5 separate regions of the Homo sapiens genome follow, and all the other regions are linked to region 1. Evidence: promoter capture Hi-C in 16 types of primary human blood cells and fetal thymus (Javierre and others, 2016). All regions are on one chromosome and are shown on one strand. Each heading gives the region's core, a stretch centred on a gene start or on the middle of the fragment in contact. The rest is flanking DNA. Distances are from core to core; before and after follow the strand shown.

Evidence for each region. Contacts are between HindIII fragments. The CHiCAGO score rates a contact against its expected background, and 5 or more counts as called.
Region 2: a contact is called between a fragment that was not itself captured here and the fragment with the promoter of ERCC2 in region 1, in 1 of 17 cell types (erythroblasts). The highest score is 5.4, in erythroblasts.
Region 3: a fragment that was not itself captured here is called in contact with the fragment with the promoter of ERCC2 in region 1 in 1 of 17 cell types (naive CD8 T cells); the score reaches 5.7 in naive CD8 T cells.
Region 4: a contact is called between a fragment that was not itself captured here and the fragment with the promoter of ERCC2 in region 1, in 1 of 17 cell types (M2 macrophages). The highest score is 5.2, in M2 macrophages.
Region 5: a fragment that was not itself captured here is called in contact with the fragment with the promoter of ERCC2 in region 1 in 1 of 17 cell types (monocytes); the score reaches 6.0 in monocytes.

The regions. Positions count from the first base shown.
Region 1 is chr19:45,369,323-45,375,672 of GRCh38, reverse strand. ERCC2 (ERCC excision repair 2, TFIIH core complex helicase subunit) reads left to right here and starts at 5,100. Exons shown (of 23, transcript NM_000400.4): 1 at 5,100-5,137; 2 at 5,441-5,540. The coding sequence starts at 5,133. RefSeq lists enhancers at 1-332, 4,807-4,886, 5,505-6,346. The HindIII fragment of the contact is 22,978 bases long and covers 1-6,350 here.
Region 2 is chr19:44,963,757-44,970,106 of GRCh38, reverse strand. The region is part of intron 2 of CLPTM1 (CLPTM1 regulator of GABA type A receptor forward trafficking); the gene reads right to left. Among named protein-coding and RNA genes, the nearest start is that of CLPTM1, 12 kb to the right of the region's middle. The HindIII fragment of the contact is 6,018 bases long and covers 1-5,368 here.
Region 3 is chr19:45,731,155-45,737,504 of GRCh38, reverse strand. It overlaps MEIOSIN (meiosis initiator), which reads right to left and starts at 4,066. Exons shown (of 15, transcript NM_001310124.2): 1 at 3,839-4,066; 2 at 2,058-2,128. The coding sequence starts at 2,128. It also overlaps a transcript of FBXO46 not described here. RefSeq lists an enhancer at 6,282-6,350. The HindIII fragment of the contact is 152 bases long and covers 3,371-3,522 here.
Region 4 is chr19:45,008,436-45,014,785 of GRCh38, reverse strand. RELB (RELB proto-oncogene, NF-kB subunit) reads right to left here. Exons shown (of 12, transcript NM_006509.4): 3 at 4,964-4,972; 4 at 2,510-2,850. Among named protein-coding and RNA genes, the nearest start is that of RELB, 10 kb to the right of the region's middle. RefSeq lists an enhancer at 2,652-3,153. The HindIII fragment of the contact is 8,461 bases long and covers 1-6,350 here.
Region 5 is chr19:45,103,959-45,110,308 of GRCh38, reverse strand. The region is part of intron 1 of PPP1R37 (protein phosphatase 1 regulatory subunit 37); the gene reads right to left. Among named protein-coding and RNA genes, the nearest start is that of PPP1R37, 14 kb to the right of the region's middle. RefSeq lists an enhancer at 4,515-5,104. The HindIII fragment of the contact is 4,378 bases long and covers 314-4,691 here.

The sequences.
Region 1 (6,350 bases), core at 3,851-6,350:
GGGAGGCTGAGGCAGGAGAATCACTTGAAACCGGGAGGCGGAGGTTGTGGTGAGCCAAGATCGTGCCACTGCAATCCAGCTTGGGCAACAAGAGTGAAAATCCATCTCAAAAATAATAAAATAAAATAAAATAAAATATAAACCAGTCAGTTTCTTCATTAGAGTTCTGGAAATTCTTACCCAGTCCAAACAATATGATCCTAAAATTTATCAGAAACCTATACTCAGGCTGGGTACAGTGGCTCACGCTGGTAATCCCAGCACTTTGGGAGGCCATGGCGGGCAGATCCCTTAAGCCCAGGAGTTCAAGACCAGCCTGGGCAACGTGGCGGAACCATGTCTCTACTAAAAATACAAAAAATTAGCTAGGCACGGTGGTGCACACCTACAGTCCCAGCTACTCAGGAGGCTGAGGTGGCAGGATCACTTAAGCCTGGGAAGTTGAGGCTGCACTGAGCCATGTTCTCACCACTGCACTTCAGCTGGAGCAACAGAAGTGAGACCCTGTCTCAAAAAAAAAAAAAAAAAAAAAAGAGAGAGAAAAGAAACTTTTATGCAACAGTGCTTGTCAGGGTCCTTCCATCCTTTCTCTCTTTCTCCCTTTCTCTCTCTCTCTCTGTCTCTTTCTCTCTTTCTCTCTTTCCTTCTTTCTTCCTTTCTGAGACGGAGTCTGTTGCCCAGGATGGAGAGCAATGGCGCGATCTTGGCTTACTGCAACCTCTACCTCCCAGGTTCAAGCCATTCTCCAGCCTCAGCCTCCCAAGTAGCTGGGACTACAGACATGTGTCACCACGCCCGGCTAATTTTTGTATTTTTAGTAGAGATGAGGTTTCACCATGTTGGCCAGGCTGGTCTCCAACTCCTGACCTCAAGTGATCCGCCCGCCTCGGCCTCACAAAGTGCTGGGATTATAGGCGTGAGCCATCACTCCTGCCATGGAGCTGACTTTTGTTTTTTTCGAGACAGAGTTTCACTCTTGTTGCCCAGGCTGGAGTGCAATGGCGCGATCTCGGCTCAGCGTTAACCTCTGCCTCCCAGGTTCAAGCGATTCTCCTGCTTCAGCCTTCTGAGTAGTTGGGATTACAGGCATGCGACACCACACCCAGCTAATTTTTGCATTTTTAATAGAGATGAGGTTTCACCGTGTTGGTCAGGCTGGTCTGGAACTCCTGACCTCACATGATCCACCTGTTCCAGCCTCCCAAAGTGCTGGGATTACAGGCGTGAGCCCCCGCGCCCAGCCAGGAGCTTTCTAAACAAAATAAATAAGTAAAATATTCAGCATGTCACATGGTTAAATGAGCTCTCAAGAACAATAAAGCAGGGAAAGGGGATATAGTGTGTGTGTGTGTGTGTGTGTGCGTGCGTGCGTGTGTGTGTGTGCGTGCGTGCGTGCGTGTGTGTGTGTGTCTAGGAGGTAGATTTAATTTGGTGGTCAGGAAGCCCTCATTGAGAAGGAGACTTTTTTTTTTTTGAGACAGAGTCTTGCTTTGTCACCCAGGCTGGAGTACAGTGGCATGATCTTGGCTCACTGCAGCCTCTGCCTCCCGGGTTCCAGCAATTCTCCTGCCTCAGCCTCCCGGGTAGCTAGGATTACTGGTATGTGCTACCATGCTTTGCCAATTTTTGTATTTTTAGTAGAGACGGGATTTCACCATCTTGGCCAGGCTGGTCTCGAACTCCTGATCTCAGGTGATCTGCCCACCTCAGCCTCCCAAAGTGGTAGGATTACAGGTGTGAGCCACCATGCCGGGCCGAGAAGTTGACAATTGAGCAAAGAGCTGAGGGAGGTGAGTGTGTCAGCCACATGGCTATCAGGGGAAACAGCATTCCAGGCAGACAAAATAGCTGGTGCAAAGGCCCTGAGATGGGATGTGCTTGTTATGTTTTAGAGACAGCAAGGAGACCAGCATAGCTGAAACAAAATGAGCTGGGGGAGAGAGAGGAGGAGATCAGAGCAGTAAGGTGGGTTGGTATGGGGATGATGAGCAGTAAGCTAGTTACAGAGGACTCTGTAGGTGACAGTAAAGATTTTGGATCTGGGCTGGATGCAGAGGCTCACGCTTGTAATCCCAGTACTTTGGGAGGCTGAGGGAACAGGATGGCTTGAGCCCAATACCAGCCTGGGCAACATAGCGAGACCCTGTCAATAACAAAATATATTTTCTTCCTGTAGGAGATAGAAAAGTAAACATAAAAAAATTTATGTAAATAAATTAAGCCGGGCACAGTGGCTCACGTCTGTAATCCCACCACTTTGGGAGGCTGAGGTGGGAGAATTGCTTGAGCTCAGGAGTTCAACCAGCCTGGACAACATAGTGAGATACCCTCGTCTCTACAAAAAATTAAAAAAAATTAACCAGGCGTGGTGTCGTGTACCCGCAGTCCCAGCTACTCAGGAGGCTGAGGTGGGAGGATCACTTGAGCCCTGGAGGTCAAGGTGGCAATGAGCCAAATTCACACCACCATACTCCAGGCTGGGACAGAGCAAGACTCTGTCTCCAAAAATACAGCCGGGAAGGGTGGCTCACACCTGTAATCCCAGCACTTTGGGAGGCTGAAGTGGGTGGATCTTTTGAGGTCAGGAGTTTGAGGCCAGCCTGGCCAACATAGTGAAACCCCGTTTCTACTAAAAGTATAAAAATTAGCTGGGCAGTAGTGGTGCGCACCTGTAATCCCAGCTACTAGGGAGGCTGAGGCCAGAGAATTGCTTGAGCCTGGGTGGCAGAGGTTGCGGTGCGCTGAGATTGTGCCACTGTACTCCAGTCTGGGCGAAAGAGTGAGACCTTGTCTCAAAAATAAATAAATTAAGAATTAATTAATTTAAAAAAGAGATTTCGATCTGCCCCTGCCTTCCCCTCCAGCTGCCCTTTCTCTGCTCCCTGTGCTCAACTCAGAGCTCCACCCCCACAGGCTTCCTTTCAGCACTCACAGGCCTCAGCTTTCTTCTGGCCTAGAGCTTTTGTGTATGATGGTCTCTCTCCCTGGAACACCTTTCTCACTTCTCTCATCCATCCCCTCTTGCTGGTTGATCTCTTCTAATTATTTTCTGGCTCTACTCAAACCTCGCTTCTTCCACGAAGCCTTCTCTGATCACTTGGCCAACACTCACACCCCACAGTTGACAGTAGACATCCTGTCATAATAAGTCTTTTTTTTTTTTCTTTTTCTGGGACGGAGTCTTGCTCTGTCACGCAGGCTGGAGTGCAGTGGCGTGATCTTGGCTCACTTCTGCCTCCTGGGTTCAAGCAATTCTCCTGCTTTAGCCTCCCGAGTAGATGGGATTACAGATGCATGCCACTATGCCTGGCTTTTTTTTTTTTTTTTTTTTTTTTAGTAGAGATAGGGTTTCACCATGTTGACCAGGCTGGTCTTGAACTCCTGACCTCGTGATCCATCTGCCTTGGCCTCCCAAAGTGCTGGGATTACAGGCATGAGCCACTGCACCCAGCCCATAATCAATCTTTATGGTGACTTGAAGTTTTCCTTCACAGCACTTTTGTACTTGTGATTATACACGTGCGCACACACACACACACACACACACACACACACATTTGAGATAGGTTTTCACTCCTGTTGCCCAGGCTGGAGTGCAGTGGCACAATCACTGCCCATTGCAACCTCTGCCTCCCAGGCCCAGGTGATTCTCCCACCTCAGCCTCCTGAGTATCTGGGACTACAGGTGCACGCCACCACGCCCAGCTAATTTTTGCATTTTTTGTAGAGACGGGTTTTCACCATGTTGCCCAGGCTGGTCTCTAGCTCCTGAGCTCAAGCAATGTACTCGCCTTGGCCTTCCAAAGTGTTGGAACCACAGGCACGAGCCACCACTCCAGGCTGTAATCATATATTCATTTGTATATTTAATATCTGTTCTTTGAGGCCAGGCCTGGTGCCTCACCCCTGTAATCCCAACAATTTGAAAGGCTGAGGGGAGAGGATCACTTGAACCTGCGAGTTTAACCAGCCTGGGCAACGTGGTGAGACCTCGTCTCTAAAAAAATTTAAAAAATAAAACTTAGCTGGGCTTGGTGGTGCACACCTGTGGTCCCAGCTACTCTGGAAGCTGAGGTGGGAGGATCGCTTGAGCCCAAGAGGTGGAGGCTGCAGTGAGCTGTGACTGTGCCACTGCACTCCAGCCTTGGCGACAGAGAAAGACCCTGTCTCAAGGAAAAAAATCTGTTCTTTGAGGGCAGGTGCTGAGGCTGTCATGGTCACCTTTCTGTTCCCAGGGGCCAGCACAGGATCAGACACATGGTAGATGCCACATAGCTATTTGTTGAAGAAACAAACAAAAGCTAGCATTTATGTTTTATTTATTAGTTATTATTATTAATATTTGAAATGGAGTTTCGCTTTTGTTGCCCAGGCTAGAGTGCGACGGCGCCATCTCTGCTCACTGCAACCTCTGCCTCCCAGGTTCAAGCAATTCTCCTGCTTCAGCCTCCCGAGTAGCTGGGATTACAAGCATTTGCCAGCACGCCCGGCTAATTTTGTATCTTTAGTAGAGACAGGTTTTCTCCATGTTGGTCAGGCTGGTCTTGAACTCCCGACCTCAGGTGATCCACCTGCCTCAGCCTCCCAAAGTGCTGGGATTACAGGCTTGAGCCACCGCGCCCGGCCTGCAAAGCCATTTCTAACTCTTGGGCCCAGAAAGGATCACCAATTTCCCTGTCATTCTCCGTTAGACTATTCGCTACTGAGACGATTTTTTTTTTTTTTTGAGACGAGGTGGAGGGGCGGGGGTTCTCGCTATCTTGCTCAAGCTGATCTCGAACTCCTGGGTTCGATCAATACTCAGACAATCTTGGCAGGCGCAGGAGGACCAAATTCTAGTGAATGAGATCGAGTCTCTCGGCTCTTTCCCTTCCATGTTTTCTTTTTGATTGGCCCTCGACGATCCTCAGTGACGCCTCCCGCACCGCCTCACCCGAGAGTCAGCCGCCCTCGCTTTTCCGTGCGCACGCGCAGTATCCCGATTGGCTCTGCCCTAGCGGATTGACGGGCAGGTTAGCCAATGGTCTCGTAATATAGGTGGAGCGAGCCCTCGAGGATGTCCACGACCCGGCCTCTCGCTGAATATTCATGAGGGAGGCGGGTCGACCCCGCTGCACAGTCCGGCCGGCGCCATGAAGTGAGAAGGGGGCTGGGGGTCGCGCTCGCTAGCGGGCGCGGGGGGTCTTGAAGATGGGGTCATCGGTGGGCGCGCCTGGGTCCCCAAGGGGGCGAGGGGAGGGTGAAGGGGTGGGACGGGGGCAGCCGCAGGGAGCAGCAGTGATAGCGAGGAGACACTGAGGGGGCCCCGAGGCTCCTGAGGACCTGAGGGTTACCGGGGGCGCCGGGCCCGTCACCCTTCTCTGGGCTCGACGACCGGGCACTGTGGAGGCGGGAGAGGGGCTGAGGGGACGGGAACTGACCCAGCAGCCCCTGCCGCCAGGCTCAACGTGGACGGGCTCCTGGTCTACTTCCCGTACGACTACATCTACCCCGAGCAGTTCTCCTACATGCGGGAGCTCAAACGCACGCTGGACGCCAAGGTGGGTGGCCGGTGGGCCCGACCCGCCCACTCGACCGGTGGGGCTGCCACGCCTGGGCCTAAGACAGATTGCAGGACGTCTGGATTTTAGAAGTCCGAGGTCCCTGGGAATCCAGGACCCCATAATCTTCCGTTATCTAAAACAATAATGGTGAATAGGCTGGGCGCGGTGGCTCGCGCCTGTAATCCCAGAGCTTTGGGAGGACGAGGCGGGCGGATCACTTGAGGTCAGGAGTTGGAGACCAGCCTGGCCAACACGGTGAAACCCCGTCTGTACTAAAAATACAAAAATTAGCCAGGTGTGGTGGCGGGCGCCTGTAATCCCACCTACTCGGGAGGCTGAGGCAGGAGGATCGCTTGAGGCCAGGAGTTGGAGGCTGCAGTGAGCCATGATTGTGCCACTGCATTCCAGCCTGGGCAATAGTGACACTTGTCTCTTAAAAAAGAAGGGAGAAAAGTTCACTATATATCAGCTACTGTGCCAAATATTTAACCTGCAATTTCTCACAATCCTCATAGTCATGTTATGAGGAAGGTTTTATTATTAGGCCCATTTTATTTTATTTATTTATTTTTGAGATTGAATTACAGGTGCGCGCCACCACATCTGGCTAATTTTTTGTATTTTTAGTAGAGACGGGGTTTCACCTTGTTGGCCCAGCTGGTCTTGAACTTCTGACCTCAGGTGGTTCACCTGCCTCAGCCTCCCAAAGTGCTGGGATTACAGGTGTGAGCCACCACGCCTGGCTTTAGGCTCATTTTAGAGATAGGGATACTGAGGTCTGGGGAGGTGAAGGTACTTGCCTAAGAC
Region 2 (6,350 bases), core at 1,110-3,609, 400 kb after region 1:
GCCCTGAAATTCCTACAAATAACTTTTCAAGTATAATGACTAGGACACAGACAGAGATAAGCCAGGCACAAAAGGAAACGACATTATGAGCGAGAATCAGCAGCAACAACAGATACCAAAACCAAAACGAGGCTGGGCGTGGTGGCTTACACCTATAATCCCAGCACTTTGGGAAGCCAACACTTGAGGTCAGGAGTTCGAGACCAACCTGGCCAACATGGTGAAACCCCATCTCTACTAAAAATACAAAAATTAGCCGGGCGTGGTGGCGGGCGCCTGTAATCCCAGCTACTTGGTAGGCGGAGGCAAAAGAATCGCTTGAACCTGGGAGGTGGAGGTCGCAGTGAGCCGAGATCATGCCACTGGACTCCAGTCTGGGTGACAGAGTAAGACTCCATCTCAAAAAAAAAAAAAAAAAAGTGTCCTTAAAGAGAAGAAATATTCCTTCTTGATTTATTCTTCTCTCCTGTTGCCTGGAGTGTGGATGTGATGGCTGAATCTTCAGCAGCTGTCTTGGGCTATGAGGATAAAGGGAAAAACCTAGCAATGGCACAACAAACAGCAAGGAGTCTGGGTCACTGAAGACTGCAGAATCCTAGTCTGCCTCCATCCAGACTGGTATATCAGAGAGAAATGAACCTGTACTGTGTTAATGGAGGTTTCTCAGCTGCATGCAGCCATGTGATTAAATGATTCAAGTACTTATTAATTATAGGTATGATAACCATACAGCAGAAGAGGTTATGAGCCCAGCCTCTAAACTACAGTATCTTCATCTGAAGCCCAGCTCTGCTACTTACTGTGACCTCAGTGGTCAACTTCAATGGTTGAAATGGGGATAATAACAGTGCCTACTCTCATAGGGTAGTTTATAAGCATTAAACACATTAAATTATATATATGTTTATATAGCGTGTATATACATCTGACACACGCACACGTACCTCAGAATGGAGCCTGGTGCATACCCAGTAAGTGACTGAGAAGTGTTAGCTATTACTGTTATTTTAATCATAGGAAAAAGGCATACAAAAAACTTTGGAGCAGAAAAACACTATGAGTAAATTCTAGTGTGGGTGGGGTGCCTCCCTGCTGAGCCCTGATCAGGGGCAGGATCAGGCACAGGAACTTGCCTCTGCCTGTAGAAGCCACAAGGCCCTGGGGTCCAGGGTCTTAGGGGCCACGGTCCAGCTGAGCCATCGCTACCTCCCCATGAAGTCCCTGATATGCACGTCTGGGGAAGGTCTGGACCTGGCAATCTCTGGGGATACCGATGCCTCCAGCAGAGGCTCTCATTTTAGTAAACACACCAGGGGAGAGTGTAGAAGCAGTGATGCCCCCAGGCAGCTCTGCCCCTGGCTTAGTGTGTGGCTGTGGGGGTCCTAACCCCTCTGGGCTTCTAGATCCCCATGTATAAAACAAGGCCAGGCCTTTTTGGATTCCAGATCCCCAGTCCCCTGAAGAACGTCCTGTGTGTATCCACACGCCCACAGTTCTGTGGACCCTCTCAGAGGGCTCATGGCCATGGCCCCTCATCCATGCACCCAGGCCTGCAGGAGACTGGACCTTTCTAATGCTTCCTGATGTACTTGAGTAAGCAAAGAAAACAGACATTAAATCCTTTCTCCCACCCAAATAGGTATTCTACAGTCACAGGTTCAGAACATTTTTAAATATATGAAAAGACGTATAATCAAAACTCTCCCTCCCACCCCATTCCTTTATATACCCAGTTCCTGCTCCACCTCCCACTCCAGGTAACCACATGTGCTCAAAAACACAGACGCCACCCGCTATCTAGAAAGGCTATTCCCACATAATCAGCTTCAAGCTACAAGGAGTTCATGGGCCCCTGAAAACAAACCCTGGATCCCATTTTAAGAACTGCAGCCAAGATGGTCTCCGAGCACCCACCCGAACTGATGTTTGATGCTGCCTAGTTCTAAGAAAGGAAATTAGCCTACAGTGTGACTTGTATTAAAAATGTCTCTCTGAAGGAAGCTCCCTATGCACTGACGTGGAAAGATTTCAAAGATATATTGTTAATGAAAAAAATCAAGGAGCAGAACAGTGTGTAAAACAGGCTACCTCTTATGTAAAAATGAAGGGAAAGATAAAAATAATTTTCATGCAGAGCTGCTTGCAGCATGAAAAAAAAGAAGGTGATATATAAGAAAATCTGAAGTCTTTACGTGGCCATGGGGAGGGGAGGTGAAGTGGAGACGGTAAGGGACAGGGGCGCATGACTGAGAAGCGTAGGGCACATGGCAGGAATTTTTGAGGCACACATGTCAGTTTTGCAACTTAACAGAGTGGGGAGGTTTCTTTCCTGCAGTTTCTCAGTGTCCTGTGTGACACTCTTGGAGGACACCAGGCAGGCAGTTCTGCTCTAGTCTAGAATGTGATCAGTGACTACATCAGGGATCATGAGTTGTTTTTTTTTTTTTTTGGGACAGAGTTTCACTCTTGTTGCCCAGGCTGGAGTAAAATGGCATGATCTCGGCTCACTGCAACCTCCGCCTCCCGGGTTCAAGCGATTCTCCTGCCTCAGCCTCCTGAATAGCTGGGATTACAGGCATAAGCCGCCATGCCCGGCTAATTTTGTATTTTTTGCAGAGATGGGTTTCTCCATGTTGGTCAGGCTGGTCTGGAACTCCCGACCTCAGGTGATTCACCTACCTTGGTCTCCCAAAGTGCTGGGATTACAGGCGTGAGCCACTGCACCCGGCCTCATGAACTTTTTTTTTTCACTGTTTCACTATATATTTCCTAAGGTTTTTGTTTGTTTGAGATACAGTCTCACTCTGTTGCCTAGGCTGGAGTGCAGTAGTATCATCACGGCCCATTGCAGCCTTGACCTCCTGGGCTCAAGCGATCCTCCCTCTTCGGCCTCCCTAATAGCTGGCACTACAGGTGTGCGCCATCACACCCAGCTAATTTTTTAGTTTTTTACAGAGATGGGGTCAGGATAGGCGCGGTGGCTCACGCCTGTAATCCCAGCACTTTGGGAGCCCGAGGTGCGTGGATAGCGAGGTCAGGAGATCGAGACTATCCTGGCTAACACGATGAAACCCTGTCTCTACTAAAAATACAAAAAATTAGCCGGGCGCTGTGGCGGGCGCCTGTAGTCCCAGCTACTCGGGAGGCTGAGGCAGGAGAATGGCGTGAACCTAGGAGGCGGAGCTTGCAGTGAGCCGAGATCGCGCCACTGCACTCCAGCCTGGGCGACGGAGCGAGATTCTGTCTCCCAAAAAAAAGAGAGAGAGAGAGAGAGATGGGGGTCTTACTGTGTTGCTCAGGCTTTTTTTTTTTCCACGTTGAACAACAAAAGGAATCATGGCCAACATTGTCTGTGTGCGTGCCAGCTCCTGCACCCCTCAGTTGACATGAATTCTCTTGGAATCCTTCTGATGCACCCTGAGCTAATTGTCAAGATTCCCTGTCTGTGAGGTGGAAAATGAGGCTCAAGAAGGGTGATAACCTGACCAGGCCACAGAGCTCAGAGGTGGCAGGGCTGAGATGTCAGCAGGGCTGTGCTCTTACACGCTATCTGACACTACCTGCCCCCCGCCTCCTAACTTTTCTCTATTTTAAACAACTCTATCTGTGAGCATCTATATATAATCCCATTTAGGGCCAATTACAAAAATGTGTGCCTATGGGATGGCCACCAACACATTACACTTTTTTATTTTTGAGACTGTGTCTCGCTCTGTCACCCAGGCTGGAGTGCAGTGGCGGCATCTTGGCACACTGCAAGCTCCGCCTCCTAGGTTCACGCCATCCTCCTGCCTCAGCCTCCCGAGTAGCTGGGACTATAGGCGCCTGCCACCATGCCCGGCTAATTTTTTATATTTTTAGTAGAGATGCAGTTTCACTGTGTTAGCCAGGATGGTCTCGATCTCCTAACCTCGTGATCCACCCACCTCGGCCTCCCAAAGTGCTGGGATTACAGGCGTGAGCCACCGCGCCCGGCCCACATTACACTTTTTCATTAGCTTTTTCTTTTCACTCTTCGTATTGTTTGAACTACTTAATTTTGTAAAATAAACACTCATAATTTATAAGCTAAGGGAAACCAGTAATAAGATTTTATGGAAGAGATAAGTAGCTGCCCCCCATAACCACTCTCCTCTTCTTCCTCAGTAATAGGAGCCCTGCTTTCCAGCAGGGTGCTCAGTTTCCCAGATTAAAGACCACATTTCCCAGCCTCCCGTGCAGCTGGCCATGGCCATGTGAAGACATTCTAGCCAAAGGAATGATTGTTTTATTTTTTTATTTTTGTTTTATTTTTTGAGACGGAGTCTCGCTGTCGCCTAGGCTGGAGTGCAGTGGCACCACCTGGGCTCACTGTAAGCTCCGCCTCCTGGGTTCACACCATTCTCTTGCCTCAGCCTCCTGAGTAGCTGGGACTACAGGCGCCCGCCACCACACCTGGCTAATTTTTTTGTATTTTCAGTAGAGACGGCGTTTCACTGTGTTAGCCAGGATGGTCTCGATCTCCTGACCTCGTGATCTGCTTGCCTTGGCCTCCCAAAGTGCTGGGATTACAGGCGTGAGCCACCGCGCCCAGCCATGATTGTTTTATTTTTATTTTCTCTTTTTTTTTTGAGACTCAGTCTTGCTCTGTCGCCAGGCTTGAGTGCAGTGGCACGATCTTGGCTCACTGCAACCTCTACCTCCCAGGTTCAAGTGATTCTCCTGCCTCAGCCTCCCGAGTAGCTGGGACTACAGGCTTGTGCCACCACACCCAGCTAATTTTTGTATTTTTAGTAGAGATGGGGTTTCACCATATTGGCCAGGATGGTCTCGATCTCTTGACCTCATGATCTGCCTGCCTCGGTCTCCCAAAGTGCTGGGATTGCAGGCGTGAGCCACCGCACCTGGCGGGATGATTGTTGTAAACATCTCTGCTGTGCAATTCCTTCTATCTCATAAGTAGGGAAGCTGATTGCCTAACTGCATGGTGTGGTCTCTTATTTTGCTAAAATACATCTCCAAAAAGCAAAAAAAAAATAAAAGGAATATCTATTTTGCAGAGGAGTAAACAAAGGCTCAGAGCAAAGAAGGTGACTGTCACTAGGTCTAGGCAGGAAGGATAGAACCCAGTGCCAAGCATATTCCCCCGCCACCACCCAGCATCTCCCCAGGGCCTCAAACAGAAGCTGGGCTTTGAAAAAACAGGCCCTGGGGTCCCACTGCCCAGGAATAGCATGTGAACCCACAGGTAAAAGGGTCACCACCAGGCAGTCACAGAAGGACAAATGCTGTCTGATTCCACATACAGGAGCTAACTAGAGTAGTGAAAGAGAGACAGGAAATAGAAAAGTGGCTGCCAGGTGTTGCAAGGAGGAAGAAATGGGAAGCTTGTGTCTGATGGGTATGGAATTTCAGTTTGGGAAGAGTAAATTCTCGGGATGGATAATGGTGATGGGGGCACAACAGTGGAGATGTACTTAATGCCACAGGACTACATACTTAAAAATGGTTAAAATGGGCCAAGCGTGGTGGCTCACGCCTATAATCCCAGGACTTTAGGAGGCTGAGGCGGGTGGATCACCTGAGGTCAGGAGTTAGAGACCAGCCTGGCCAACACGGCAAAACCCCATCTCCACTAAAAATACAAAAATTAGCCAGGCGTGGTGGCAGGTGCCTGTAGTCCCAGCTACTCAGGTGGCTGAGGCAGGAGAATCGCTTGAACCCAGGAGGCAGAGACTGCAGTGAGCCGAGATTGCACTACTGCACTCCAGCCTGGGTGACAAAGTGAGACGCTGTCTCAAAAAAAAAAAAAAAAAAAAAAAAAAAAAAGGTTAAAATGAAAACATAGGTTAAAATGGTAAATTTGATGTTATGTGCAGATGTGGGCTGAATCATGTCTCCCAAAATTCATATGTTAAAGTCTCAACCTTCAGTACCACCGTGACTAGATTTAGAGACAGGGTCCCCCCAACTTTTTTTTGCGATAAGGTCTCACTCTGATGCCCAGACTGGAGTACAGTGGTGTGATCTCGGCTCACTGCAGCTTCAACTTCTGAGGGTCAGGCAGGGCCCAGTGGCTCACGCCTGTAATCCCAGCACTTTGGGAGGCTGAGGCGGGTGGATCATGAGGTCAGGAGTTCGAGACCAGCCTGGTCAACATAGTGAAACCCCATCTCTAATAAAAAAAAAAAAAAGCAAAAATTAGCTAGGCACTGGGTGCAGTGGCTCACGCCTGTAATCCCAACACTTTGGGAGGCCAAGGCGGGCAGATTGCCTGAGGTTGGGAGTTCGAGACCAGCCTGACCAACATGGAGAAACCCCATCTCTACTAAAAATACAAAATTAGCTGGGCATGGTGGCACATACCTTAA
Region 3 (6,350 bases), core at 2,197-4,696, 360 kb before region 1:
AACAGAGCAAGACCCTGTCTAAAAAGAAAGAGCCAGGCGTGGTGGCTCATGCCTGTAACCCCAGCACTTTGGGAGGCTGGGTGGATCACTGGATCCCAGGAGTTTGAGACCAGCCTCGGCAACATGGCAAAAACCCATTTCTACGAAAAATACAAAAATTAGCCAGGCGTGGTGGTGCACGCCTATGGTCCCAGCTACTCAGGGGGCTGAGATGGGAAGATTGTTTGAGCCCAGAAGGTCGAGGCTGCAGTCAGCTGGGATTGCACCACTGCATTCCACATTCCAGCCTAGGTGACAGAGCAAGACCTTGTTTCAAAAAAAAAAAAAAAGGAAAGAAGCCAGGCTTGCTGACTCACACCTGTAATCCTAGCACTTTGGGAGGCCGAGGCGGGTGAATCACCTGAGATCAGGAGTTCGAGACCAGCCTGAACAACATGGTGAAACCCTATGTCTACTAAAAATACAAAAATTTGCTGGGCGTGGTGGCATGCGCCTGTAGTCTCAGCTACTCGGGAGGCTGAGGCAGGAGAATCGCTTGAACCCGGGAGGCGGAGGTTGCAGAGAGCCGAGTTCATGCCATTGCAGTCCAGCCTGGGCAGCAAGAGTGAAACTCCATCTCAAAAAAAAAAAAAAAGGCTGGGCGCAGTGGCTCACGCCTGTAATCCCAGCACTTTGGGAGGCTGAGGTGGGCGGATCACGAGGTCAGGAGATCGAGACCATCCTGGCTAACATGGTGAAACCCCATCTCTACTAAAAAAAATATAAAAAATTAGCCAGGCATGGTGGTGGGCGCCTGTAGTCCCAGCTACTCAGGAGGCTGAGGCAGGAGAATAGCGTGAATCCGGGAGGTTGAGCTTGCAGTGAGCCCAGATGACGCCACTGCACTCCAGCGGGCGGATCGCGAGGTCAGGAGTCCAAGACCAGCCTGGCCAACACAGTGAGACCCTGTCTCTACTAAAAATACACACAAAAAAATTAGCTGAGCATAGTGGTGGGCACCTGTAATCCCAGCTACTTGGGAGGCTGAGGCAGGAGAATCGCTTGAGCCTGGGAGGCAGAGGTTGCAGTGAACCAAGATCGCGCCACTGCACTCTACAGCCTGGGCATCAGAGTTAGACTCTGTCTTAAAAAAAAAGGAAAGAAAGAAAGACACTCAGAATGTCAGTTGGGCGTGGTGGCTTAGTAATTCCAGCACTTTGGGAAGATAAGACAGGAGGATCACTTGAGGCCAGAAGTTCAAGACAGGCCTGTGCAACATAGCAAGACCCTGTCACTACAACAAATAGAAAAACTGGCTGGGTGTGGTGGCATGTGCCTGTAATCTTAGCTGTTCGGAAGGCTGAAGCAGGAGGATCAAGCCCAGGCTCAAACCCAGGAGTCCGAGGCTATAGTGAGCTATGATGCCACCACTGCACTCTAACGTGGGCAACAGAGTGATACCCTAACTCTGAAAACAAACAAACTCAGAATGTCACAGGCTGCAAGGACCTTAGAAGTTATCTTTGCCCTAAAAATAAAAAAAGAAATGGGCTGGGCATGGTGGCTTACACCTGTAATCCCAGCACTTTGGGAGGCTGAGACAGGCAGATCACTTGAAGCCAGGAGTTGAAGACTAGCCTGGGGAAAATGGCAAAACCCTATCTTTACAAAAAATACAAAAATTAGCCAGGCATGGAGGCATGAGCCTGTAGTCCCAGCTACTGGGGAGGCTGAGGCAGGAGAATCACTTGAGTTCAGGAGGCGGAGGTTGCAGTGAGCTGGGATCGCAACACTGCACTCCAGCCTGGGCAACAGGAGTGAAACCCTGTCTCAAAAATAAATAAATAAATAAATAAGCAATGATCTTTGCCGATCACCTCAGAGTACTCTCATCTGGAAAATGGTAGGCATCTTTGTACACAACTTCCTCATGAGATTGTTGTATGGATTAACAGTTATCATACAAACAAAATGTTTGGCAAAGAGTCTAGCAAACGGTAAATGCTCAGCAAATGTTTTTGTTATTATTATTCAATGAGAGTGGCTGGGGCTATAAGGGAGATGGGGCAAGCCCTTACCTGTCACTGGGACCCAGTGAATTAGCTCTGGGCTGTTCAGAGGAACCCAAGTATCTGCTGGAACCAAACATCTGCAAAGAGGGAAAAAGAATGATTAGTGACCTCTGGGATTGCAGGAAGGATGGGCAGGAACCCTGATGGGCACCCTTCATCTTCCCTATGATGCTCCTTTGAGCACCCAGAGATCCCAAAATAAGAGTCCCTAGCCCCAACAAATTATGGGCCCAAAGACCCAAATTAAACAGCTAAACCTTGGCCAGAAGTGGTAGCTCACACCTGTAATCCCAGCATTCTGGGAGGCCGAGGCAGGCAAATCACTCGAGGTCAGGAGTTTGAGACCAGCCTGGCCAACATGGTGAAACCCCATCTCTACTAAAAATACAAAAATTAGCCGGGCGTGGTGGTGCACGACTGTAATCCCAGCTACTTGGGAGGCTGAGGCAGGAGAATCACTTGAACCTGGGAGGCGGAGGTTGCACTGAGCCAGGATTAAGCCACTGCACTCCAGCCTGGACAACAGAGTGAGACTGTGTCTCAAAAAACAAAAACAAAAACAAACCCCTAAACCTCTAAAAAGGCACTAAAACTAATACTTTAGAGTCCCAAAATGAGGACCTAAATCCTCACTTTGGAGCCCTCCCAAAGCCAGGTACAGTGGCTCACGCCTGTAATCCTAGCACTTTGGGAGGCCAAGGCAGGAGGATTGCTTGATCTCAGGAGTTTGAGACCAGCCTGGCAATATGACAAAACTCCACCTCTACAAAAAAAAAAAAAAAATTACCTGGGCATAGTGGCACATGCTTGTAGTCCCAGCTACTTGGGAGCCTGAGGTGGGGGGATGGTTTGAGCCCAGGAGGTCAAGGCTGCAGTGAGCTAAAATCGCACTACTGCACTCCAGCCTGGATGACAAAGTGAGACCTTGTCTCAAAAACAAAAAAAAAGGAGCCCTCCCAAACCTACAAACCCTAAATTCTAATACTGAGATACCCCAGACCCTCAAACTGTCAACTTCTGATCTTCAAATATGATCCTAATACTAAGATTACAGACTGCAAGCTGTAACACTATGAACCTATATCCTAAGATAAGAAATCCAGGCCCCTATGAAACAAATCTCACTTCTCCAGATTGACCTCTTAGACGTCCAAACTGTCCCTCAAATTGTGGCCCCAACCCTAAAACTGAGATCTCGAATGTGGGTCCTACTCTGAAACCCCAGACCCTAAAACTGGAGCTCCCATACTCAATGTGGGCACTCCAGGCCCTAAAACGTGCTTCTAAAGACTCAAACTGCGACTCCAGATCCTAAAGCTTCATACTCTACATTGGGATTTAGGCCCTAAATCTATACTGAGGCTTCAGTTGCCCCAAATCAGGCTCCAGACTCTCAAAATGTTACATCATAACTCAGAACTAAGACTTCCAGATCCCCAAATTGGGATCTCTGGATTCCAAGGAGAAAGCTTCCAGTCACAAAACTCAAGCTCTTCAGATTCCAGAACTAGTCACCCCTAGACACAAATCCCGAGATCCCAGATCAGAACTCGAGAGCCCGGATTCCCAACACAAACAGAGTCTTCCGTTCCTCAAACTCGAACCTGGACCCCCGGCTTCAAACCCAAACTCCGTCGCCCGTGGCCCTGCACCCAGAGCATGTTCTATTCCCCTGAGCCCCCCACCGAGGGAAGCTCCTGTGGGGATCCCGGGTTCCCCTAAGCCCAGCTAGTGCTGGGGGAGGCCCCCTGCCCCGCGCCCCATTCCCCTTGGCCTCCAGCACCCGCCTCAGGGCGTGCAAAATGGCGTGAGGCTGCCCCCGCCGTTCTGGTTTCTCCGGGCCCCACTCTAGGGAGCCCGATCAGACAGCGTCTCGCGCGGGTCCCGGGAAGCCGGCCGTGCGCGCGGGGATCCCAGACGGTCTCGGACACCACGTTCCCAACCGGGCTTGGGGTTGGGTGCGAATCCTCCCGGCGCGAGGATCCTGCGCGAGGCGTGAGGAGCAGAGCAAGAGTGCGTTCCTGAGGCCAGGCCACGCCCCTACCAGTTCCAGCCAAGATGTGCTGGGCACGAGACGACGGGGTTGAAAGGGCAGGGTGCAAGTGGCCGTGCGCACGCGCGCCTCGGGAAGGGCCCTGTCGTCTTGCACAGCGTGAGCTCGGCCTCGAGCCTTCTGACAAGGCCTTGGTCGGCGTGAGCCGCTAGGTGACCAATCAGCGCCCGCTCAGCCACCCGCCTTTTTAAGCGGTCACGCCCCTGCACGACCCGCGTGGTCCAGGGCCGTTGCATCCCAAGTAGGCTGGGTTTCCTCAACTGCCAACTCTCAGGAAGAGAGAGAGAGCGAGCTCGCCTGTGTCCCTTCTGGCCCTATGATGTCCCATTTCCACCTTTTCCCTTCAGTTCGTGATTCATGAGGGCCTCCTGTGTGCCAAGCACCAGGCTAGATGGTGGGAACTTAGCCACTGTCTTCCCAGTACAATCGAGAAGACCGTGAGAACCTCCGAGACCATGAGAATCCGGTGAGACGGGAACTCGGTTAATGCAGAGAACAATACGTTGGGAAAGGATTCAAAGAGGAGGGCCATTTGAATTGGGCCTTCTTGGGAGGACGAGGCGGGCGGATCACTTGAGGTCAGGAGTTCCAGACCAGCCTGGCCAACAATGGTGAAACCCCGTCTCGGCTAAAAATACAAAAATTAGCCGGGCATGGTGGGGCGCGCCTGTAGTCCCAACTACTCCAGAGGCTGAGGCAGGAGAATCATTTGAACCTGGGAGGTGGAGGTTGAATGAGCTGGTATCGCCACTGCACTCCAGCCTGGGCGACAGAGCAAGACTCTGTCTCAAAAAAAAAAAAAAAAAAAAAAAGGAAAAAAAAGAAAGAAAAAGAATAAAAGATTTGGGCTTTTTTTTTTTTTTTTTTTGGTAGAGACGAGGGTCTCACTTTGCTGCCTAGTTTGGTCTTAAACTCCTGGACTAAAGCCAGTCTCCCGGCTGAGATTATAAGCATGAGCCACCGCACCCAGCCTGGAAAATACGTCTTAAGGGGAGATGATCTAACGACCTAGTCAAGAGTAGAAACCCTGAAATCCAATACATTTCAGTTCAAATCGTTTTCTTGGCTGTGTTGCCAGCGACAAGAGGCTTAATCTCTTTCTGCCTTATAAATTTGGGATTGTAATTCCTACCAGGGTTGTCTGTAGGGTGTCTGGCATATAGTTCCGATGCAATAAATATTTACTGAACACATGTTTACGCTGTTCTAGGTGCTTGAACAAGGTACACAAAGATCTCTGCCCTCCTGGAGCTTCTTCTTCTTCTTCTTCTTTTTTTTTTTTTTGAGACGGAATCTCGCTCTGTCCCCCAGGCTGGAGTGCAGTGGCGCGATCTCGGCTCACTGCAAGCTCCGCCTCCTGGGTTCACGCCATTCTCTTGCCTTAGCCTCCCGAGTAGCTGGGACTACAGGCACCCGCCACCCAGCCCGGCTAATTTTTTGTATTTTTAGTAGAGATGGGGTTTCAGTGTGTTAGCCAGGATGGTCTTGATCTCCTGACCTTGTGATCAGCCCGCCTCGGCCTCCCAAAGTGCTGTGACTACAGGCGTGAGCCACCGCGCCCGGCCTTCTTTTATTTTAAGAGGCAGCAGGGTCTCATTCTGTCGCCCAGGCTGAACTGCATGGAGGGCGGTGGTGTAACACTAGCTCACTGCCTCGAACTCCTGGGCTCGAGCGATGTGGAGCTGCTATTCTATGATGTGGACTAACTCCTAATGTATGGGACTTTCCTTCCTCCTAAGGCTTAATTTTCTCATTTGTAAATCAGGAGGTAAGAAAGGAGGGGACGGGCCGGGCGCGGTGGCTCACGCCTGTAATCCCAGCACTTTGGGAGGCCGAGGCGGGTGGATCATGAGGTCAGGAGTTCAAGACCAGCCTGACCAACATGGTGAAACTCCGTTTTTACTAAAAATACAAAAACTAGCCGGGCGTGGTGGCGGGCTCCTGTAATCCCAGCTACTCAGGAGGCTCAGGCAGGAGAATCGCTTGAACCCAGGAGGCGGAGGTTGCAGTGAGCCGAAATTGCGCCACTGCACTCCAGCCTGGGTGACAGAGCAAGACTCCGTCTCAAAAAAAAAAAAAAAAAGAAGGGGATGGATGGGAAGGAGTTTGGAAAAGCACAAGGAGCTGTTAGCTATTGTGTTGATCGGCACAAATGAATCAATAAATTTGCTCTTCCCCAACTCTCCACCCCTCACCAACACCCTATTGCAATATTCTCAATTCCCTTCCCAAGGGCCTCGGGCAAA
Region 4 (6,350 bases), core at 1,956-4,455, 360 kb after region 1:
GCACTTTGGGAGGCTGAGGCAGACAGATCACTTGGGGTCAGAAGTTCAAGACCAGCCTGGCCAACATGGTGAAACCCCATCTCTACTAAAAGTACAAAATATTAGCCGGACATCATGGCGCGTGCCTGTAATCCCAGCTACTTGGGAGGCTGAGGCAGGAGAATCGCTTGAACCCAGGAGGTGGAGGTTGCTGTGAGCTGAGATTGCACCATTGCACTCCAGCCTGGGTGACAGAGCAAGATTCCATCAAAAAAAAAACCAAAAAACAAAAAAAAACTCTGAGCCAGAATAACTGCCTGGGAAGACTTAGAAATTAGGCCGGTGCGGTGGCTCACACATGTAATTCCAACACTTTGGGAGGCCAAAGTGGGAGGATTGCTTGAGGCCAGAAGTTCAAGACCAGCCTGGACAACATGGTGAGATGCCAACTCTTCAAAAAAATACAAAAATTAGCCAGGCACGGTGGCATGCACCTGTAGTCCCAGCAACTCAGGAGGCTGAGGTGGGAGGGTCTCTTGAGCCTGGGAGGTGGAGGCTGCAGTGAGCCGTGCTTGTGCCACTTTACTCCAGCCTCTGTGACAGAGAGAGACCCTGTCTCCAAAAAAAAAAAAAAAAAAGCCTTAGAAATTAGAAGTTGGGGAATACAGTTAAACATGGGATGATACATCTCAGTATATCATCCCATAGATAACTTACCAATTCATTACAAAGGGAAAGTTGTATCTTTATCATGGAGAGACCTGATAGTCACCACATTAGCTGGAGGATCCAACTCAGCATCACCAATATTGGGAATAACGACATCCCACGTCCCTTGATGTGAGACACTGAGAAGGCCACAGCATCACTGCTGGAGTGTTTCTGCCAAAAATGCATAATCTGACCTAATCTGGAAACAGCCAACAAACCCAGAATGTGGGATATTCTTTTTTTCTTTTTCTTTTTCTTTTTTTTAGAAGGAGTTTTGCTCTTGTCGCTCAGGCCGGAGAGCAATGGCACGATCTTGGCTCACCGCAGCCTCTGCCTCCCGGATTCAAGTGATTCTTCTGCCTCAGCCTCCCGAGTAGCTGGGATTACAGGCATGCACCACCACGCCGCACTAATTTTGTATTTTCAGTAGACATGGGGTTTCTCCATGTTGGTCAGGGTGGTCTCGAACTCCCGACCTCAGGTGATCCGCCTGCCTCGGCCTCCCAAAGTGCTAGGATTACAGGCATGAGCCACCACGACCAGCTTCAGAATGTGGGACATTCTACAAAACATCCGTCCTGTTCTGCACAAATGTTCAACTCACGAAACACAAAGACAGATTGAAGAACAGATCCAGATTAACAGACACCAAAGAGGCCAGGCACAGTGGCTCACACCTGCAATCCCAGCACTCTGGAAGGCCAAGGCATGCGGATCACTTGAGGTCAGGGGTTTGAGACCAGCCTGGCCAACATGGCAAAACCCCTTCTCTACTAAGAAATACAAAAATTAGCCAGGCGTGGTGGTGGACCTGTAATCCCAGCTACTCGGGAGGCTGAGGCAGGAGAATCGCTTGAACCCGGGAGGTGGAGGTTGCAGTGAGGCGAGATCACACCACTGCACTCCAGCCTGGGCAACAGACCAAGACTCCGTCTCAAAAAAATAAAACTTACCTGTACCTTATTAATACATTAATACCCTGCCAAAAGTAATCACCTTTGCTTTTTTTACTTCCAGTGTTATATATATTTGTTTGTTTTTTAATGGAGGCAGGGTATTGCTCTGTTGCTCAGGCTGGAGTGCAGTGGTGCGATCTTGGCTCACTGTAGCCTTGACCTCCTAGGCTCAAGCGATCCTCCCACCTCAGCCCTACCATGTAGCTAGGACTACAGCCATGTGCCACCACACCTGGCTAATTTTTGTATTTTTTGTAGAGATGGGGTTTTGCCGTCTTGCCCAGGCTCATCTAGAACTCCTGAGCTCGAGTGATCCGCTCGCCTCGACCTCCCAAAGTGCTAGAATTACAAGCCTGAGCCACCGCACCACGATCTGCCTTCTTTTTTTTTTTTCTTTTTTTTTGAGACAAGGTCTCACTCTGTTACCCAGACTGCTATGCAATGGTGCAATCTCAGCTCACAGCAGCCTGCACCTCCCTGGGCTCAGCTAATCCTCCCACCTCGGCCTCCTAAATAGCTGGGATTGTGCCACCACACTCGGCTAATTTGTGTACTTTTAGTACAGATGGGGTTTCACCATGTTGGCCAGGCTGGTCTCGAACTCCTGACATCAAGGGATCCGCCCGCCTCAGACTCCCAAAGTACTGGGATTACAGGCGCGAGTCACCGTGCCCAGCCAAATGTCCGACCCCTCCTTTTTTCTGAACCTTTTGGATTCCAGGCCAGGTGATAGTATAATTAATATCTGGTCCAACAATAACAACAACAGCCACCATCAAATAAACGTATAAATGCATGTGGATGGCTCCGGGGTGCAGGGGAAGCCCCAGTCCCACCCGCCCGGGGCCGCTCGCCGGGCCCACCTCGATGGCGGGCAGCGTCTTGCTGGCCTCGGTGCTGCTCTCCCCAAGGATGCTGCCGGCCGAGCGGCCCTCGCACTCGTAGCGGAAGCGCATGCCGCGCTGCTTGGGCTGCTCCGTGATGACCAGGTGCGGCTGCGGGCCCGGGCCCGGCGCTGGGGACACTAGTCGGCCCAGGGGGCAGCCCCAAGGCGGCGGCGTGGCTGGGGGCGCCACAGGGCCCAGGGTGACCGTGCTCAGGGACGCAGCCCCGCGAGACACCAGGCGTGGCAGCCCCTCGCCCGGGCCCGGCTGTCCCCCGTCCAGGCCGAAGCCGTTCTCCTTGATGTACTCGTCGATGATCTCTGCGGGAGAAGAAAAAACGGGTGGTGACGCCCATTCTTTAAAAAATTAAAAAAAAAAAAAAAGGCTTGATTACCCCCGAGACGTTTTCCATCCCATTTATCTCTCTCTCTCTCTCTCTCTCTCTCTCTCTCTCTCTCACACACACACACACACACACACACACACACACACACACACAGAGTCAGGGAGGCCAGGTGCGGTGGCTCACGCCTGTAATCCCAACACCTTGGGAGGCCAAGGTGGGTGAATCAATTGAGGTCAGGAGTTCGAGACCAGCCTGGCCAACATAGTGAAACCCCGTCTCTACAAAAATTAGCCCGAATGGTCTCCCACGTCTGTAATCCCAGCTACTCAGGAGGCTGAGGCAGGAGAACAGCTTGAACCCAGGAGGCGGACACTGCAGTAAGTCAAGATCGTGACACTGCACGCCAGCCTGGGCGACAGAGTGAGACTCCGTCTCTCAATAAATAATAGGCTGGGCGCGGTGGCTCATGCCTGTAATCCCAGCATTTCGGGAGGCCGAGGCGGGCGGATCATGAGGTCAGGAGATCGAGACCATCCTGGCTAACACAGTGAAACCCTGTCTCTACTAAAAATACAAAAAATTAGCCAGGCATGGTGGCACGTGCCTGTAGTCCCAGCAACTCAGGAGGCTGAGGCAGGAGAATCGCTTGAAACCGTCAGGCGGAGGTTGCAGTGAGCCGAGATTGCGTCACTGCACTCCATCCTGCGCAACAGAGCAAGACTCCATCTCAAAAAATAATAATAATAAATAAATAAATAGGCTGGGCATGGTGGCTCACGCCTGTAATCCCAGCACTTTGGGAGGCCGAGGCAGGCGGATCACCTGAGGTCAGGAGTTTGAGACCTGCCTGGCGAACATGGTGAAACCCCATCTCCACTAAAAATATAAAAATTGGGCATGGTGATGTGTGCCTGCAGTTCCAGCTACTCGGGAGGCAGAGGCAGGAGAATCACTTAAACCTGGGAGGTGGAGGTTGCAGTGAGCCAAGATCATGCCATTGCACTCCAGCCTGGGCAACAAGAGCGAAATTCCATCTCTAAATAAATAGATAAATAAATACAAAAATGAGCCAGGTATGTTGGTGCATGCCTGTACTCCCAGCTACTCGGGAGGCTGAGGCAGGAGAATTGCTTGAACCTGGGAGGTGGAGGTTGCAGTGAGCTGAGACAGCACCACTGCACTCCAGCCTGGGCGACAGAGCGAGACTCTGTCTCAAAAAATAACTTAAATAAATAAATAAGAAAGAACTTGCTCCTCCAACTGCCTGTTCCACACGGTCCCCCATTCAACCCATGCTGGCTGCTTCTCCTCCTGGTCTCAGCTCGTATGTTATCTCTTCAGAAAAGCCTAACCTAATGTGTCTTCTCCAGGCCATCTCTCCCTCGTCCTGTTTATTTCTTTCACAGCTCTCAGCCCAGGCTAACATTATCTTGCTCATCTGTTCATTTTCCTCTGTCTCCCACACCGGGCTATCAGCTCTGCGAGGGCAGGGACTTGGTTTTGTTCATGGCTAAATCCCCAGGGCCTAAAACAGTGTCTGTCTGTACTCACTAGGGGATTAATAACATTATTTTATTTTAATTGGTTTTCTTTTTGAGACACGGTCTTGCTCTGCCGCCCAGGCTGCAGTGCAGTGGTGCAATCATAGCTCACTGCAGCCTCGGCTTCCAAGGCAACCTCCCAGGCTCAGGTGATCCTCCCACTTCAGCCTCCTGAGCAGCTGGGACTACAGGTGCGCACCACCATGCCCGGCTAATTTTTAAAAATTTTGTGTAGAGATGGGGGTCTCACTATGTTACCCAGGCTAGTCCTGAACTCCTGGCCTCAAGCAGTCCTCCTGCCTCTGCCTCCCAAAGTGCCAGGATTACAGGTGTGAGTCACACAGCCCCCGGCGTGCTGAGTGTTTTCCAAGTGTCAAGCACTGCTAAGTACCTTAGGAGCATGACTTCGTTCAAATCCCTCCACAGTCCTGGAAGTCACACAGTGACACCTCTCCCCCACCCCCACTGAACAAGGAAGGCCAAGACCCCCTTCTGTAGGCACTTGGGTCCCTCAGCCTCCCCGCAAACCTGCCCTGTGATACTCACCCAATTCATCTGTGGAAGGAAGAGAAAGAGAAAGAGAAAGGTAAGGTCCAGAAAGTGGTCACAACTTTTCATCTTTTAAGACAGATTCCCCAACCCTGTCCCTCCTGTGACCCTTCCGTCTTCCTCCGTCCTGGGAAACCCTGGGCTCTGACTTGCTGGGGCACTAAACCCCAAACCTCATCTTCTCCTCTGGGCTACCATCCTTTCAACCTCTAATGTTGGGGTCCCAGCATCAGGGTATCCTCCAACTAAGCCAAATGCCTCCCGAAAAACATTTAGACCAGGGATTATGAAGTCTTTTTGGGAACCCATTAGAAAGGGGTCTTAGCACCAGGAAAAAGTGGATGCCCAAATTTCCAAACAAATTGGGGTGTGTTCCCTCCCTGAAGTCCACCCCAGGGTCCTGGAGGTCACTGGCTGGTGTTTAAAGATACAAAGAGGTGGCCAGGCCTGGTGGCTCACGCCTGTAATCCCAGCACTTTGGGAGGCTGAGGTGGGCAGATCACTTGAGGTCAGGAGTTCGAGACCAGCCTGGCCAACATGGCGAAACCCCGTCTCTACTAAAAATACAAAAATTAGCTGGGTATCGTGGTGGGCACCTGTAATCCCAGCTACTCGGGAGGCTGAGGCAGGAGAATCGCTTGAACTCAGGAGGCAGAGGTTGCAGTGAGCTGAGATTGCGTCACTGCACTCCAGCCTGGACAACAGAGCGAGACTGTCTCAAAAACAAACAACAACAACAACAAAAAGATGCAAAGAGGCTGATCTGAACCCAGGCAGCCTCTTGCTCTGTACCCCAGCCCTGTCCTCCCACAGTGACCACCCAAAATCCCAGATTCACCCCTGCTTCCTAAGTGAGGAGGTACAGTAATGCTGGGTCCTCAGGGAAGCCCCTTTTCACCTCCCCAGGAAAGCTCAGCCCTTCACAGAATCGTGGAGGAATCGAAACCGACCTCCCGTCATTCCATAGACAGGACAAGGGGAAGCCCAGAGGCCGCCAGTGAGCCTTAGAATCACACAGCAACGGAAGGCAGCTGCAGCCAGGTGTCCCACCCAGGGCTGCCTGCGCTGGTCTCTGGCTGGGGATTTATAGACGCGAACCTGTTCCGCTGCTAGATCTGTCCTCCTCTGTTCTCAGGGAGTGGCTCCTGGCAGCCAGACCTTTGCCCCTTGAAAGGTAGTTTTCCTGCACCCCTTATCTCATGGGATCTGTGAAGCCAGTAGGGTGCCAAGGTCCCCCCAATTTGGCAGATGGGGATACTGAGGCTGGCAGAGAGGAAGGGACACGCTCTAGGTCAGTGGCAGGGCCAACCTCAAGTCACTTGAACTGGGAAAATCCTTCTTAGGCATCTGTGCTGGATGAACCTGGGGACCCAAAGACAGAGTT
Region 5 (6,350 bases), core at 1,253-3,752, 260 kb after region 1:
CCCCGTCTCTACAAAAAATCCAAAAATTAGCCAGGTGTAGTGGTACGTGCCTGTGGTCCCAGCTACTCAGAAGGCTGAGGCGGGAGGATCACCTGGGCCCAGGAGATCTAGACTGCAGTGAGCCATGACCACGCCACAGCACTGCAACCTGGGAGACAGAGCAAGACTCTGTCTCAACAAAAAAAAAAAAAAGAAAAAGGGAATTCATTAATTCCTTCAAATATTTATTGTTGTCTATTCTATGCCAGGCACTATTCTAGGTGCCAGGCTACACTGGTGAACAAAAAAGCCAGACATCCCATCTCAAGAAGCTTACACTGGATGGGGACAGGAGGCCATAAGCCAACAGGAGCCACACAAAAGTCCAGGCCATCCTTCCAGACAGAGGGAAGAGTCGGTTCTGAGGACCCTCCAACAGGGCAGAGGGGGAGCAGAGCTGAGGCTGCAGATGCAGGTGGGCGACAGATCCTCAGGGCAAAGAACAGTATTCCTGAAGAGTCAGGAAGCTACTGGAAGGAAACAGCACATGACATACAGGACCCTCATACAGAGGGTGCTGATGACGTGGTGGCCATGGCTGTGGGAGACGAGGGAGTCCAGGCTCCTGCTGAAACTTGAGGCTCCTGGGACTTGCTGAGCCTCCATAGCTGTGGTGGGCTGGATGTGTCCAGGGACCCAGGCAGGGCTGCCCTGGCTTCTGCCATCTTCAGCAAGTGACCAATGACCCCAAGTAGCAGTTTCTTATCTGCAAAAATGTGGGGCACCAGCAGGTTCACCGAGTCACTCAGCCTGGTGCTCAGCAAATGGGGCTGGAGTTGTGGTTACAGTGGACCCTCTGTAACCTGCTAACCCTTTTCCCAGGCCGGGCCTCCACTAAAGCACCCTCTCTCCTACACTGCAGGGCCTCCAAGGCCTGGGCTGCCACTGCCTCCTCTGCCCTCTCTGAGGGCCCCAGCCCTGTGTTTCTCCATCCCAAGCTGTTCACACTGAGATGGGGCTTTGCTATGATGACTCGGTGAAATAGCAGAGGAGAAAGTGCTTCTCTTTAGTGTCCTGCACCCCTGTCCCCCACCTTTCCTGCAAGGCAAATGATAAATGAGGACAAATATATCTGCACAATAAAATTACATCTATCTTCAATAGAGGAGTCCTTATAAAGGTCCCAAAATAAAAATAGGCAAAGGGCATGAAGAACCAATTCCCAGAACCATGTAACATGTTAACAATAAACAGGTTAGGTCGGGCGCAGTGGCTCATGCCTGTAATCCCAGCACTTTGGGAGGCCAAGACAGGAGGATCACTTGAGGCCAGGAGTTCGAGACCATCCTGGGCAACATAGCGAGACCTCATCTCTACAAAAAACAAAAAAGACCAGGCACGGTAGTTCACGCCTGTCATCCCAGACTTTGGGAGGCCAAGGCGCGTGGATCACCTGAGGTCGGGAGTTACAGACCAGCCTGACCAACATGGAGAAATCCTGTCTCTACAAAACATACAAAATTAGCCGGGTGTGGTGGTGCATGCCTGTAATCCCAGCTACTCGGGAGGCTGTGGCAGGAGAATCGCTTGAACCTGGGAGGCGGAAGTTGTGATGACCTGAGATCGCGCCATTGCACTCCAGCCTGGGCAACAAGAGTGAAACTCCATTAAAAAAAAAAAAAAACCCACAAAAATACAAAACAAACAAACAAAACCGAAGTTAACTAGTAGTCAAAAGAACGCTCGCTAAAACAAGACACCATCTTAACATCAAGGCACCCACATGCAAATACTATTCATTCAATCATTAAAAAAAAAATCTGGTCAGGTGCAGTGACTCACGCCTGCAATTCCAGCACTTTGGGATGCTGAGGCAGGCAGATCACCTGAGATCAGGAGTTTGAGACCAGCCTGGCCAACAGTGAAACCCCGTCTCTACTAAAAATACGAAAATTAGCCGGGCGTGGTGGTGCGCGCCTATAATCCCAGCTACTCGGGAGGCTAAGGCAGGAGAATGGCTTGAGCCTAGGAGGTGGAGTTTGCAGTCAGCCAAGATCACGCCACTGCACTCCAGCTTGAGGGACAGATCGAGACCCTGTCTCTGGCCATGGTTTAAACCTCAAAAGCAGAAAAAAAGAGAGAGACCCTCTCTCAGAAAAAAATCTAAAGCTACAGTGGTGACTATGACGACAGAACCCTAGCCCTCAACACTCACTGTCCAATGTGGGCACAGCCAGTATCTGAGACTTCCAATGTTCCTTCCCTTTGACCTGGTAAAATCACCTTCTAAGAATTTTTTCTAAGAAGGCTACCCGTGTGATGAGCATGAAGATTTATGGACAAGGACGAACATCACTGCATTATCTATGCAACTGAAAACTGGAAAGGACCTAAACGCTCAGCAATGCGGAAATGGCTAGAATGAATTACAACAGCCCAGTGATGTACTTTAAATCATGCTTTCTAAAAAAACGGAAAAATGAAGTGCAGAAGCAGGATATTCAACTGTATCTACAGTATCCTCACAGCTTTATTTTTATCTAGCGGTGGCTGTGAATCTAGCCAGAGAGAAGAGACGGGAAGGAAATGCACTGGCATTACACGCTGAAAACATCCCAGGTGGTGCAAATCGCTCAGCTGAGAAGTCCTGCATCCGGGATACACGTATATAGAACTCTCACAACTCAATAATGAAGGGACAAACAATTCATTTACTTATTTTTTATTTATTTTTGAGACAGAGTCTCACCTAGGCTGGAGTCCAATGGCAAGACCACAGCTCATTGCAGCCTCGACCTCCTGGGCTCAAGCAATCCTCCCACATTAGCCTCCCAGGTAGCTGGGACTACAGGCATGAGCCACCAGGCTTGGTTAATTTTTTACATTTTTTTATAGAGATGGGGTCTCACCATGTCGTCCAGGCTGGTCTCGAACTCCTGGGCTCAAATGATCTGCCCACCTTGGCTTCCCAAAGTGCTGGGATTACAATTGTGAGCCACTGCGCCTGGCTCCCCTTTTTTTTAATAGAGACTGGGTCTTGCTATGTTGCCCAGGCTGGTCGCGAACTCTTCGGCCTCCCAAAGTGCTGGGATTATAGGCATGAATCACTGTGCCCGGCTGGCTCAATTTAAAAATGGGCAAAAGAACTAAAAAGACATTTCTCCAAAGAAGATACACAAGTGTTCAGCAAGCACATAAAAAGATGCTCAACATCAGCTGGGCACGGTGGCTCATGCCTCTAATCCCAGCACTTTGGGAGGCCAAGGTGGGCGGATCACGAGTTCAGGAGATTGAGACCATCCTGGCTAACATGGTGAAATCCCGTCTCTACTAAAAACACAAAAAATTAGCCGGGCATGGTGGCGGGCGCCTGTAGTCTCAGCAACTTGGGAGGCTGAGGCAGGAGAATGGCGTGAACCTGGGAGGCGGAGCGTGCAGTGAGCCGAGATCACGCCACTGCACTCCAGCCTGGGTGACAGAGCGAGACTCCATCTCAAAAAAAAAAAAAAAAAAAAAAAAAAAGATGCTCAACATCATTAGCCATAAGGAAATGCAAATCAAAAGCACAACGAAGCCTGAGCAACCCGGTGCAAATCCATCTCTACAAAACAATTAAAAATAAGAAAATCAGCCAGGCATGGTGGCTTGTGCCTGTGGTTCTAGCTAATCTGGAGGCTGAGGCAAGAGGATCACTTGAGCCTGGGAGGTGGAGGCTGCAGTGAGCTAGGATTGCACTACTGCACTCCAGCCTGGGCGACAGAGGAAGACCTCATCTCAAAACAAACAGGCCAGGCGCGGCGGCTCACGCCTGTAATCCCAGAGCTTTGGGAGGCCGAGGCGGGTGGATCATTTGAGGTCAGGAGTTCGAGATCAGCCCAGCCAACATGGTGAAACCCTGTCTCTACTAAAAATACAAAAAAATTAGCTGGGCATGGTGGCGCATGCCTATAATCCCAGCTACTTGGGAGGCTGAGGCAGGAGAATCGCTTAAACTTGGGAGGCAAAGGTTTCAGTAAGCCAAGATCCTGCCACTGTACTCCAGCCTGGGCAACAAGAGCGAAACTCCATCTCAAAAAAAAAACAAAAACAAAAACAAAACAGCTGGAGGGGTGGCCGAGGAGAGCAGCAGGAGCCTGGACCCAAGTGCCAGGGCATCCTTGGGTAAGTGCCGCCCCTCTCTGGTTACCCCTCTACCCCTGAGATGAGGAAGGGGCTGGTGCCAGCCCTGGATTCTTTTGACTGCACTGGAAGGCAGTAAGCACAAACACCTGGACCTAACAGCTGGTGGGAGGACATTCAGTCAGATGGCCCCGCCTGTTGGTGTCTGCTCCACCCCAGGACCAGACAGGATCAGGCCACTGTCAGACTTGGGCACTCTAAGCCAGGCTCCATGAGGGCGCTGTCCCTGGGCTCTGCCAGCAACAGCCCCAACTCCATTTTAATGGAACAACATTTACTGAACACCTGCTCTGTGCCTGGAGCTGTGCAGGAGACACAGCAGGGACCGAGAAAGCCCCGGGCCTGACCCCCTGGGACTTGTCCAGCAGGGAACACAGGTCCAGGCACAGCAAGGAAGGCAGCCCTCCAGGGAAACGGAACACTGACTGTTCATTGTGATCATAGTAGGCAGAACCGGGCCGGGAATCAAGGATCCCAAGCCCGTGACAGAAGGGGATTACAGAACACAGAGTGAGAACGGAGTCATGGAAGCTTGGCTGGGTGGCCGGTCGCCCCTGACACCTGTGACACATGGGTCACAGGGAATGGGGAATTAGGTCACCTGCCACAAAGGTACACGGCAGATCAATTATCAGAACCTTGCCTGCCACCCCGTGACAGGGAGGAGGTCCTGGGATCCAATCACTCCCTAAATGGTGCGGTGTCCTACATGGAGAGATGGGAAACACTGACGCGCAGTGGGAAAGGACCCCGGGCACCATCCTGCCCCACAGAGAGGGCAAGCATCCTGGCCTATGACCCCCAGCAAGTCAACAGCAAAGACGGGCCTGTTTGCCAGTCCTGCGCTGCCATTCTCACCAGGCTGGCGGGGGGATACCAGAGGCAGGCTTTGTACTCCCCTCCCTAAAGCTCCTCCTCCTCTCTGCCCACTTCCTTTTCTGGACCAGGGACTATGCTAGGGTAGGGACTGTCTGAGCTGCTCATGGCAAGGACTAAGACCCAGCATTGCATGCCACTTCCTTCTCCACCTGCCATATTGCGCTCCTGCCCAGAGCCAGGCCCAGTGCCACGTGGTCTGGGGCACTGGGGAATACAGTGGCACCAAACCCAACCCACCACTGCCTAGTGATGCTTCCAGTCCAGGGCAAGAGTATCAGCAGGCCCGCAGATAAGCAGATCGCTGGCCACCTGACGGGGAGCCCATTAGGAGGGCCAGGAAGGAAGGGTTTGCTGGCACCTGAAAGATTAGTGAGAGCCACCTGTGTGCGTAGGTGGGGCCGGTCTTCCAGGACAGGATGTGGGGAGCTGCCTGCGTGTTCTAGGACTGAAAGGAAGCCACGATGGCTTGAACCCAGCAAGAGCATGGCAAGGTGATCTCGGTCGTGGCCGGCGATGGTGGCAAGAGCCAGGTTATACCTGGGCTTCCTAACCTGTTGCAGGGACACTAGATCAGAGGGAAAGGCAGCAGGGAGGTCACAAGTGTGATGTGAAACAGGAATAGCAAAGTCTGCTTTTTCAAGAATGCTGTGGCTGCTAGGTGGGGAGCGGGTTGGAGAGGGAGCAGGAGAGCCATTGGGAGGCCCCTCCACCTGGCATGGCAGGGACAGCAAAGTGGAGGCAAAACAGGCGCTGGTTGGCAAGGAATGAAGGAATGAATGCAGGAAAAAAGGACTCAGTGAACGAAATCTTCCTTCCCCACACCCCATGCTCCCTGACTGTCCTGAGCCCCAGTGCCTGGGTTACAAAGGCTTTGCGGCACCCGGCCTGGGTGCTCATAAGCAACCCCACTTTGCCCGGAGTCCTTAAGGTTCCTGGAGGCGTTCAGTGGTTCCACCCCTCCCAGGAGCCAGATGGACAGGATGCAGCCCTCTGCAGCACTGGTCCAGGGAGGGGAGATGGGCCCGAACAAATAACAACAGAGCGAGGAGGCGCCATGGGAACCCAGACGAGCGGAGCAGAGCTTTGTCCGGGGATTAGAGAAGGCCTTGCCCAGAAGGCAGCACGGGAGGGGGAGTTGGTCAGGAAGGGCAGGGGACTATCGAGGGGTGTGCTGGGCAAAGGCGCCTGCGTCTAGGCGTGGGAGGGGTAACGGGAATTGGTCAGGAAGGGCAGGGGACTAGCGAGGGGCGTGCTAGGCAGAGGCGCCTGTGTCTAGGAGGCTGGGCGTTCTGTGGGAAAGGCCTCCCACACCA